Regions from separate parts of the Homo sapiens genome. Here region 2 is linked to region 1. The links are contacts of gene promoters, found by promoter capture Hi-C in human tissues and cell types (Jung and others, 2019). All regions are on one chromosome and are shown on one strand. Each heading gives the region's core, a stretch centred on a gene start or on the middle of the fragment in contact. The rest is flanking DNA. Distances are from core to core; before and after follow the strand shown. Region 1 holds the start of CHP2 (calcineurin like EF-hand protein 2). Region 2 overlaps PRKCB (protein kinase C beta).

The links. Contacts are between HindIII fragments. The study calls those that stand out against the background at their distance.
Region 2: a fragment that was not itself captured here is called in contact with the fragment with the promoter of CHP2 in region 1 in 2 of the 25 tissues and cell types used here (dorsolateral prefrontal cortex and pancreas).

The regions. Positions count from the first base shown.
Region 1 is chr16:23,752,203-23,756,947 of GRCh38, reverse strand. It overlaps CHP2 (calcineurin like EF-hand protein 2), which reads right to left and starts at 1,922. Exons shown (of 7, transcript NM_022097.4): 1 at 1,832-1,922; 2 at 1,215-1,287; 3 at 1,021-1,101; 4 at 755-885; 5 at 499-560. The coding sequence starts at 1,898. RefSeq lists an enhancer at 1,389-2,034. The HindIII fragment of the contact is 8,876 bases long and covers 1-4,745 here.
Region 2 is chr16:23,857,258-23,862,002 of GRCh38, reverse strand. All of the region lies in intron 2 of PRKCB (protein kinase C beta), which reads right to left. Among named protein-coding and RNA genes, the nearest start is that of PRKCB, 24 kb to the right of the region's middle. The HindIII fragment of the contact is 4,841 bases long and covers 502-4,745 here.

The DNA of each region.
Region 1 (4,745 bases), core at 673-3,172:
CCATCCTCCACACCATTCTCCACCTTAGCCACTAAGGGTTTCTAATTCCATCCTCATTCCATCACATCTGTTCCAGAGTTTCTCAATCTTGGCACTGTTGACATTTGGAGCCAGGTAACTCCTTGTTGGAAGAGGCTCTCCTGGGTATTGCATGATATATAGCCACATTCCTGACCTCTACCCACTAGATGCCAGTAGCACACTCTCTCCCCCATTGTGACAACAAAAAGCATCTCCAGATATTGCCAGATATTCACTCAGGGAGCAAAATCACCCCCAGTTGAGAATCACTGATCTATTCCCAACCTCATAGTCAACTGCTCCCCACTCCGACTCCCAACAAACCCACACTCTAACTGCACCCATTCCCATTTCCCAACCAATACCCCAATTATCTGCGCCCCAGTTCCCCAATCATCCCACCCCATCTCTCACACCATTGCATTTAACCATCCCATCCTTCACACATCACATCTCTTGCTCTCGCTTTCTGCCAACCTGCAGCATCTCATGCCTGGAGATCTTCCCATCGCGATCCAGGTCATAGAGCTGAAATGCATCTGGGGAGAGGGTGGGAGGGGGAAAGGAAGGTAGGTCTTCCCTGGCTCTCTTCCAGCAGCCACCTTCCTTCCCCCCACCTTGGAGGAGGGGGGAGGTTGTCAATGCCCTCAGGAAGGGAGTGGGAGATCCCTGGAGCCTGTCCCTGGTGTGGGTACATCTGCATTCTCACTTGTGCAGGTCCTCACAAACTCACAGTGAAGTTTGTTCCTTCTGCTGTTGAGAGGTTCAGGTTTCTTGGGGTCTTGGGTTTCTGTGTCCTCATCTTCTACAGGGCGAAAATGAGCCAAGACCCTGACAAAGCCTGGGAAATCCACTCGCTGGCTCCTGGGGAGACGGGACAGAATGGAAAGAGGTGGTGGTCACCTTGGCCATCACTTTGCCTCCGTCTCTAACCTCCCCTCCCACCCACTCACACACCGGTTTTCCCGCCTTCACCTCCCCACGCCCAGCAAGCCTCACCCATCGGGGAAGAAGCTTTCTATAATTCGGTCTCCCAGGGGGTTCACGGCGAGCGCCCCTATCTGCTGGAGATCCATGCGGCTGCAAAGCCAAATTTCAAAGAGGGTAAGGCAGAGATGCCAGACGGAGGGTCAAAGAGGGACATGGAGTCAGAGAGACAGAGGCCAGAAGTTATGAGGCCGGCTCCCCCTCACCTCAGGTAGCCCTTCTTATTCCTGTCCAGTGCCCGGAACCGGTGGTGCAGGCGGAGCAGGCTGGCTTGGGAGACTGCGGGAAGGAGAGTGGGGTGGGGGTGTGTGACTCTGCAGGGCCAGCTCCAGAAACCCGCCCCAACAGGCCAGGAAGATGGGCCAGAACAGCGGGGGCTGGCTGGAAGGGGCGATCATCCCGGGGAATCAGGGGTTGAGCTGGCCGGGGCGGAGGGAGAGTGACACGACCCCGCGAAGATCCAGGTTCAAGACCCGGGCGGCTCGCAACCTCCCGAAAACCAAAGAACCAAAGCCATCCCTTCCAACCGCCGTCAGCTCTGCCTTCAGCTTCGAGCCGGGCTGGAGGACACCTGGGTGCCTGGATTCCTCTGGACTCCGACCCCGTGAACCCGGATCCTCCCCAGACTTGGAGGCTGGGACCCCTAGGTTAACCCGCCCCTAACCCAGCGATCCCAGGCACAGGGGCCTTGGTCTTCCAGCTCCGGGGAGCCCCGGACCCCAGACTTGTAAGTTCGTCCATCCTTCAACCCAACCCCTTCCCTAGCCCCAGACGCCTGGGTTCGCCCCGTCCCCTCCGCAGCCGCCGACGCGGGCGCACTCACAGCCGGTCTCTCGCCGAATACTGTCCCCGTCGGGAATGACCGCGGCGTGGGAGCTGCGCGACCCCATGGCCGAGCTGGAGGCGGAAGGGCCGGAGCAGCCACCCGGACCCACGCGTTCTCTCCTCCCGCCGGAGAGGCGTGGCCGCCCCAGTGGCCCCAGGGGGACGAAGGCCACAAGCCTGGCGCGCGGCCAAGCTCCAGAACCCCGGCGTGCCTCTCCTCCCACCCGCGACCCGGGCGAATGGAAAACAATGTGCAGGGTGGCGGGTCAGAGGGAGGCTGCGAACAACGGGCTGTTTCAGCTCCGAGATTTTGCGATCCGCACGGGAGAGGCTGGTCGAGTCCCAGGCCCCGCGTTTCCACGCCTCCCCCGGGGCCGGTTCCCACGGTGCGCCCTGACACCTGAGCCACCTCCTCCTTCGCGGGCCCCGGGCGCTCCCAACCCCAGGGCGCTCCCCGGCGTCGACGCTGAGGAAGCCTGGGAGACCTGACCTCCTCTGTAGAGACCACGCCCTGCTGGAAGGCGGGTGGCCTATGGGGAGGGAATCCTGGGGGGAGGGGGGAAGAGGCATCGAAGAACTCCCAAAGACGGGGAAGTGGGGAGGGGCGGCGAGATGAAGGGTGTGCGTTAGGTTAAGTGGAAAGAGCACTGGTTTGGGAGTCCTTGTTGGAATCCCAGCCGTGCCCGTGACTCTGGGAAAGTCAGTAAATCTTGGTTTCATCCCTTTTGTTCGGTTCACATTGCCTTATTGTTGTTTAATTGAGCCAATGCTTAAAATTCAGGAGATTTAACCCAAAATCCACATTCTTGGCTTTTCCTGAGAAATCAGAAGTTCTATCACCACCAGGCCCAGAGCTGTCTTCTGGCCACAGTCCCTCCAAGCCCAATTCACTCCCTTAGGTACCTACTGATCCCGTAGAGCTCCAGACTGGGAATGACTTAGTCCTCTGAACAGCCCTCCAGAGCCATGGGACTCCTTGGCCCAAGAGAGGGTTACAGACATCACTGGGACTAGGCTTAAAGCAAGAATGACAACAAGGGCTCTTGTTTACCACGCTTTGCTAAGCACTTTACGTGCATCCGTTCACACATTCCTTGTAGGCCCTGCTGGGCTGCTTTCTTCTAATTTTACGTGGTGGAGGCTGCCGGGGGCAAGTTGTGAACTAATTATGTAAAGCGTGCATTCTCAGTGCGGTCTCTATCTCACCCCAACGGGGCAAAAAATAAAACATATTTTTTATGTACAAAGCACAGCATACATACAGCACATAAATAGATATACAGTATAGCTGTGATATTGAAATTTCAGGGCAGACGTGGAGGCTCATGCCTGTAATCCCAGCACTTTGGGAGGTAGAGGCAGGAGGATTGCTTGAGCCCAGGAGCTCAAGACCAGCCTAGGCAACATAGTGAGACCCCATCTCTACAAAAGAATACAAAAAAAAAAAATTAACCAGGTGTCGTGGCACATGCCTGTAGTCTCAGCTACTTGGGAGTCTGAGACAGGAGGATCACTTGAGCCCAGGAGGTTGAGGCTGCAGGGAGCCATGATCACGCCATTACACTCCAGCCTGGGTGACAGAGTGAGACCCTGTCTTGAAAAGAAAAGAGGCCGGGCGCGGTGGCTTATGCCTGTAATCCCAGCACTTTGGGAGGTCGAGACGGGCGGATCACCTGAGGTCAGGAGTTTGAGACCAGACTGACCAACATGGAGAAACCCAGTCTCTACTAAAAATACAAAATTAGCTGGGCGTGGTGGTGCATGCCTGTAATTCCAGCTACTCGGGAGGCTGAGGCAGGAGAATCGCTTGAACCCGGGAGGTGGAGATTGAGGTGAGCCTAGATCGCGCCATTGCACACCATCTTGGGCAAAAAGATCGAAACTTGGTCTCAAAAAAAAAAAAAGAAAGAAAATAAAATTTCATGGGGTAGGGGTGAGGGTGGGGAAATTAAAAAGACTAGGGGAGGCGTTGATAATGAAAAAAAAACAGGTCGAGAAACTCATTTGTCAAGGGACAAACACTAGAAGTGTCCACTTTTGAAAGTATCTTTAAACCGTTTCCCCCATCATAATTGCACATACATACACAAATTTCCCAGGGGGGAAAACATGCAAGCAGTTCATTGCAAGGGCTCAAGTTCATATCCACCCTGGAGAGAGAGAAGCTGAAGAAACAGTCTATCCTCCAGCCCCAGGCAGAGGCCTGCATCAGATAAGTCTTGAAAATATTGATCTAAGAAGTGCTTGCTTCTTTCAGATACCCCCAAGGATTAAGCAACTGGCATAAGGAATGCTTGATTCTCTTTCAGACTCCCCCCAAAGACTAAGCATGCGGGAAACCACACTCCTCCCTAATGAAGCCCAGCAATCACTGCAACCCACAGCTGTGAGTCAGGCTGTGCATGTAGTTTGGGTTCAGTTCTGAACCCAGGAGGAGATGAGAGCCCTAAGAAGCTGTGATAAGCACCGCAGGCCAGCTTGGGATGCTGATCTTGGAAAGGGCTTCTCCAGCCTTAATATTGGAGTCAGTGCTACACCAAAGTAAATTAGGCCGGAGAGTAATTAGGAACTCCCATGCACACATCATACACAAGCTTTTAAGAGAGGGCTGGACCAGGCACAGTGGCTCACACCTATAATGCCAGCCCTTTGGGAGACTGAGGCGGGCAGACCATGAGGTCAGGAGATTGAGACTATCCTGGCTAACACAGTGAAACCCCGTCTCTACTAAAAATACAAAAAATTAGCTGGGTGTGGTGGCAGGCGCCTGTAATCCCAACTATTTGGGAGGCTGAGGCAGGAGAATCACTTGAACCTGGGAGGCAGGTGTGGCAGTGAGCCAAGATCACACCACTGCACTCCAGCCTGGGTAACAGAGCAAGACTCCATCTCAAAAAGAAAAAAAAAGAAAG
Region 2 (4,745 bases), core at 1,673-4,172, 100 kb before region 1:
TAGGTTGAGGCAATAACCTCAAATTGTGTGAGATACAATGCATTCTACTGGAAAGAACAGAAAACCCATCTTAAGACGTTTTAAGCAGTAAGAGAATTATCTAACAAAACAAAATTTCAAGAGATAGAGCTATATCAAGATTAGTGAATTCAGGGGCTCAAGGATATTGTGAAGGAGACAGATCCTCTCCCTCTTTTTACACTGCCATTTACAGCTTGCCAACCTTGTCCCTCATGGTCAAAACATAGCTGCCACAGCTCCAAGCACCACATGCAAATGTGACATGAAATACTTAAACACAAATCCTTTGTCCTATGTCCCCTTCCTTCCTGCTTTGCCCTGTGAGTATGTGATTCTGGGAGCTATCACAGCCTTCCTGGGACCAAGAAGGGAGACACTGATCACATTTTGAGGATGGCAGAGCAAATAACTGAGAGGCGCTTGATGACAGTGTTAAGTCTTTGATTAAACCAACCCTGGAACCACCAGCCTCCTTGTTAGGCTCGCCAGATATTCTGTTTTTAAGAACCAAAGCAGGTCAGGCATGGTGGCTCATGCCTGTAATCCCAGCACTTTAGGAGGCGGAGGTGTGAGGATTGCTTGAGCCCAAATTCAAGACCAGCCTGGGAAACACAGTGAGACCCTGTTTCTATAAAAAATAAAATAATTAGCTAGGAATGGTGGGACATGCCTGTAGTCCCAGCTACCTGGGAGGCTGAAGTGGGAGGTTTGCTTGAGCCTGGGAGGTTGAGGCTGCAGTGAGCTGTGTTTGTGCCACTGCACTCCAGCCTGGGTGACAGAGCAAGACCTTGTCTCAAAAAAAAAAAAAGAACTAATGCATCCTATCTGAAACAACCTCCAGAATTGGAGAGCTAGTAACACTTGCTATAAATAGAAGGTGAGTATGAAGAACACAATGAAAATTTAAATTATTAAATTCTAGCAGGTACATAGCTCTGAGTCTGAGATTGCTTCATTCTTTTAGCTTAAAAGGGAGATTTGCATGCATTAGAAAGATGTTTAGGACATGATAGCACCAAACTAAGACACTCTCCTTAACCCGAAGAATTAAAAGAAAAAAACATTTTTTTCTTTTTTATACTGAGTCTCATTCTGTTGCCTAGGCTAGAGTACAGTAGCGCGATCTTGGCTCACTGCAACCTCTGACTCCGGGTCCAAGCAATTCTCCTGCCTCAGCCTCCCGAGTAGCTGGGAGTACAGGCACACACCACCATGCCCGGTTTTTTTGTTTTGATTTGTTTTGTTTCTTTTTTTTTTTAGTAGAGATGGGGTTTCACCATGTTCACCAGGCTGGTCTGGAATTCCTGACCTCAAGTGATCCACCCACCTTGGCCTCTCAAAGTGCTGGGATTACAGGTGTGAGCCACCACACGCGGCCTACAAGAGAATTTCTTTTAAAACTACGTAGTTCCATGTTGTTGAATACCTTACATCATTAAAAATCTTTGAGTGCCACCAGTAACATACTTCAGATATTTTAAAAATGCACCCCTGTATTAACAACTCCCAAACATTTACCTCTATCCCTGACTTCTCATGACTTCCAGTTGCCTTTGGGCACCTACACCCGGATATGGCACAGGCACCTCATCCTCAACATACCCAACGCATAATTCTCTATCTTCTCCCCCAAGCTTTCTCTTCTTCTTGTATTCTCTGCTGCTATTCATGATATTTCTATGTATCAAGCACCCAAACCCGGACTCCCTCAATAGGTGACAACATTTATAGTACTTTTTTTTGGTACTAAGTGCCAGGGTGCCACTGCATCTTACACAAGCACTAACATATTTGATCCTGACAACTCTTATTAGGTAGGTCCTATTATCATTCACCCCTTTTTCAAAATGAAGAAGCTAAGGATAAGAAATTTGCCTGGGGTCATGAGATTTGAATGCAGGTCTGTCTAATTCCTCTTTTTTTCTGCTTCACAAAGAAAATAGAAACCACCAAGCAAGATTTCTCAACTGGCCTCAAAACTTCATTTATTTCCCACCCATTTTCCCATCACTTCTCATTTTCACCTGTGCTCTCCCCTCCATGGGTCCTTCCCTTCCTTGACAACTCTCTCGCTCTCTCTCTTTCTCTCTCTCTCTTTCTCTCTCTCTCTCTCCTAATGCTGTCAACCTCACCCCCTTGAGAAGTGCCATGCTCCCTTTGGGAACCTGGAGGTCTTTCTCTCCTGCTTTTAAAGTTTCCTGCCTTTTCTCTGCCTCCTCCAAATTTTCTATTCTTCAAGCTAAACATCCCCGGGTACTTCAACTACTTCTTCCTGCCAAGTGTCTTCTCTCTCTTGCTTCTCCCCGCACCTCACTGACATTCTTCCTCTCTCTTTCACTGCTTCCTCTGCCTCAAAACCCAACTGAGAACTCAGGCTCCTCTGTGCAGCCTCCCCAGGACCCTGGGAGGTGAGCTGCTCCTGGCATTTCTCCCCCCTCTCCACCATTACAGCACACATCACACTGAGTTATCAATGTGTGATTTATGAGTCTGGCCTACAAGTTTAGGGGCTGCTTGAGGACAGAAAGCAGCTTCCCCCTGCCCATCACAGGGCGGCTGACTATGCCAGCCAGACCACGCTGTGCTATCACTCCTTTTACACTACTCTCTTCTGAGTGGACTTTGGAAAAGATACAAAGGAGGGATCTCACACTTTCCAAATCAGACCCCACAACTTGATATGCCACCTTCTGTGCCCTGGCCAAAGACTGACCAGGGATACTGGTGGAGTAGCTGAACCTGGACCTTCAAGCCTAGGAGTCAGACCACCTGGGTTTGTTGCCCTCTTCAACTACTTAGCTTAGAGACCAGTGGCAAGTTAATTAATGTCTCCTGGGATTTGTTTGTTTAGAGAGAGGGTCTCACTCTGTCACCCAGACTGGAGTGCAGTGGTGCCATCAAAGCTCACTACAGCCTCAACCCTCACAAGCTCAAGGGATCCTCCCACCTCAGCCTCCTAAGTAGCTGTGAATATAAGCACGAGCCACCACACCTAGCTCATTTTTTTTTATTCTTTGCAGAGATGGGGTTTCACTATGTTTCCCAGGCTGGAAGCTATTTAATATCTCTAAGCCTCAGTCACTTCATGAAGTTAATAATGAGATCAACCTCCTAGGGTGCTGTGGACATTCAATGAGATCATGTGTGTGAAGCATCCAGCTCAGTGCCTCAATAAATTAGTGCAGCTCTTCAGGGAAGTATTATTCCATGAAAGTGCCTGCTGTATGTAACCCTCTTCCTTCCAAGTGACTCAACAGCTTGCATAGTTCTCAGCCTGTCCTCCCAGCCTGGTAACTTAGGCATGAAGAAATCAGCCTACTGTGATCACGTGGCCAATGAAAGTCCTCAAACTAGAAGCCACTTTCTGAATTCCTTATTCAAGGCTATGGCTAAAAAAATCTACACATGTGCAAACTCCCCCACTGGGAAAAAAAAAAAACAGTTTGATGGAAGTATTCCTCCCACTAGAGAATTTCCCCTTCCTGTCAAATGTTGCCAGTTTCATTCATTGCTGTGGCAGGCACACTTTCCTGGCCATGAGAGATGGGCCTTATCACCATCCCGTATACCAGATCCTTCCTGGTTGCCATTCTGCCACACTCTTACGGGGCCTTCCTCACCATGGTGCTCCTCTGTGACCCCCGGAGCCCTTCACCTTGGTGAACAGACAGTCTGACTCGAATGGACCTGAATTCAATCTACGCTCTGCAGTTACTTAAGCAAATGTTTTATCTTCTCTAAGCTTGCTTTCTTATCTACAAAAGGGATAAGAATAGCAGCAAATCTTAGTGGAAGGTAAAGATTCAAAGGGATAAAGTTTGTGAAAATGCCCAGCTCATTGCAGACACTGAAATATTAGCTGCCTTCATCATCATCATCATCATCCTCATCATCAACGTCATTGTCACCATCAATTCTGAAGTTACACAATCCTAAAACCAAGTCTATTTTTGAATCCTAACTGTAACTTTGGAAAAATTTCTCAATTCTTTGTGCTGTTTTCTCAGCATAAAATGGCAACAATAACAGTAGCAGCCACACAGGGCTGTTGTGAGGATTAAATAAGTTAATACATGTAAAGTACTTAGAACAGTGCCAGTCACCGAGTGAGTACTCAATAAATGTCAGCTCAAGTTAATGGCATTTGAAATCTTTGAAGACATCCAGGAAATGGAAAATTCCCTTGGCCTCTCTGTCCAATGAATAGAGATCCTTCTAGGGACTGCAGACGCACGTGCGCACACACCCACACACACACACACACTCTCTCTCTCTCTCTCACATCCTCAAGCAGGGACAAGCCTAGCCCGGATTTCATTTTTTTCTTGGACTTGACTTTTCGTCCCATCTGGAGTGCCCTGGCCCCCCTATGGCCCTTGGGCCCCAAATCAGAGACGGCCAGAAGGGAAACACAGAGAGGCCAGCTGTCATGTGGGCCCCCACCTATCAGGCACACCAGAGAACATAAACACACACTGAATCCCAGCCCTTGGAAGTCTCGGCTGGAGGCAACCCTCAGCAGAGTCCCACCATGGGGATCTGACCCACCTCCGTGCTGGCATACTGTTCCCACATCTTCTGGCGGCTCTCTGCAGCCCCTAAACACCTCCTCCTCCCTCCCTCTGTGCTGATTCTGCTCATAAAACACTTCTTTCTCAACCCACATTATCCCCCAGGATAAGCAGCTCCTTCTCTCTGCAGGAGAGGGACAGTTCTCCGCCAGC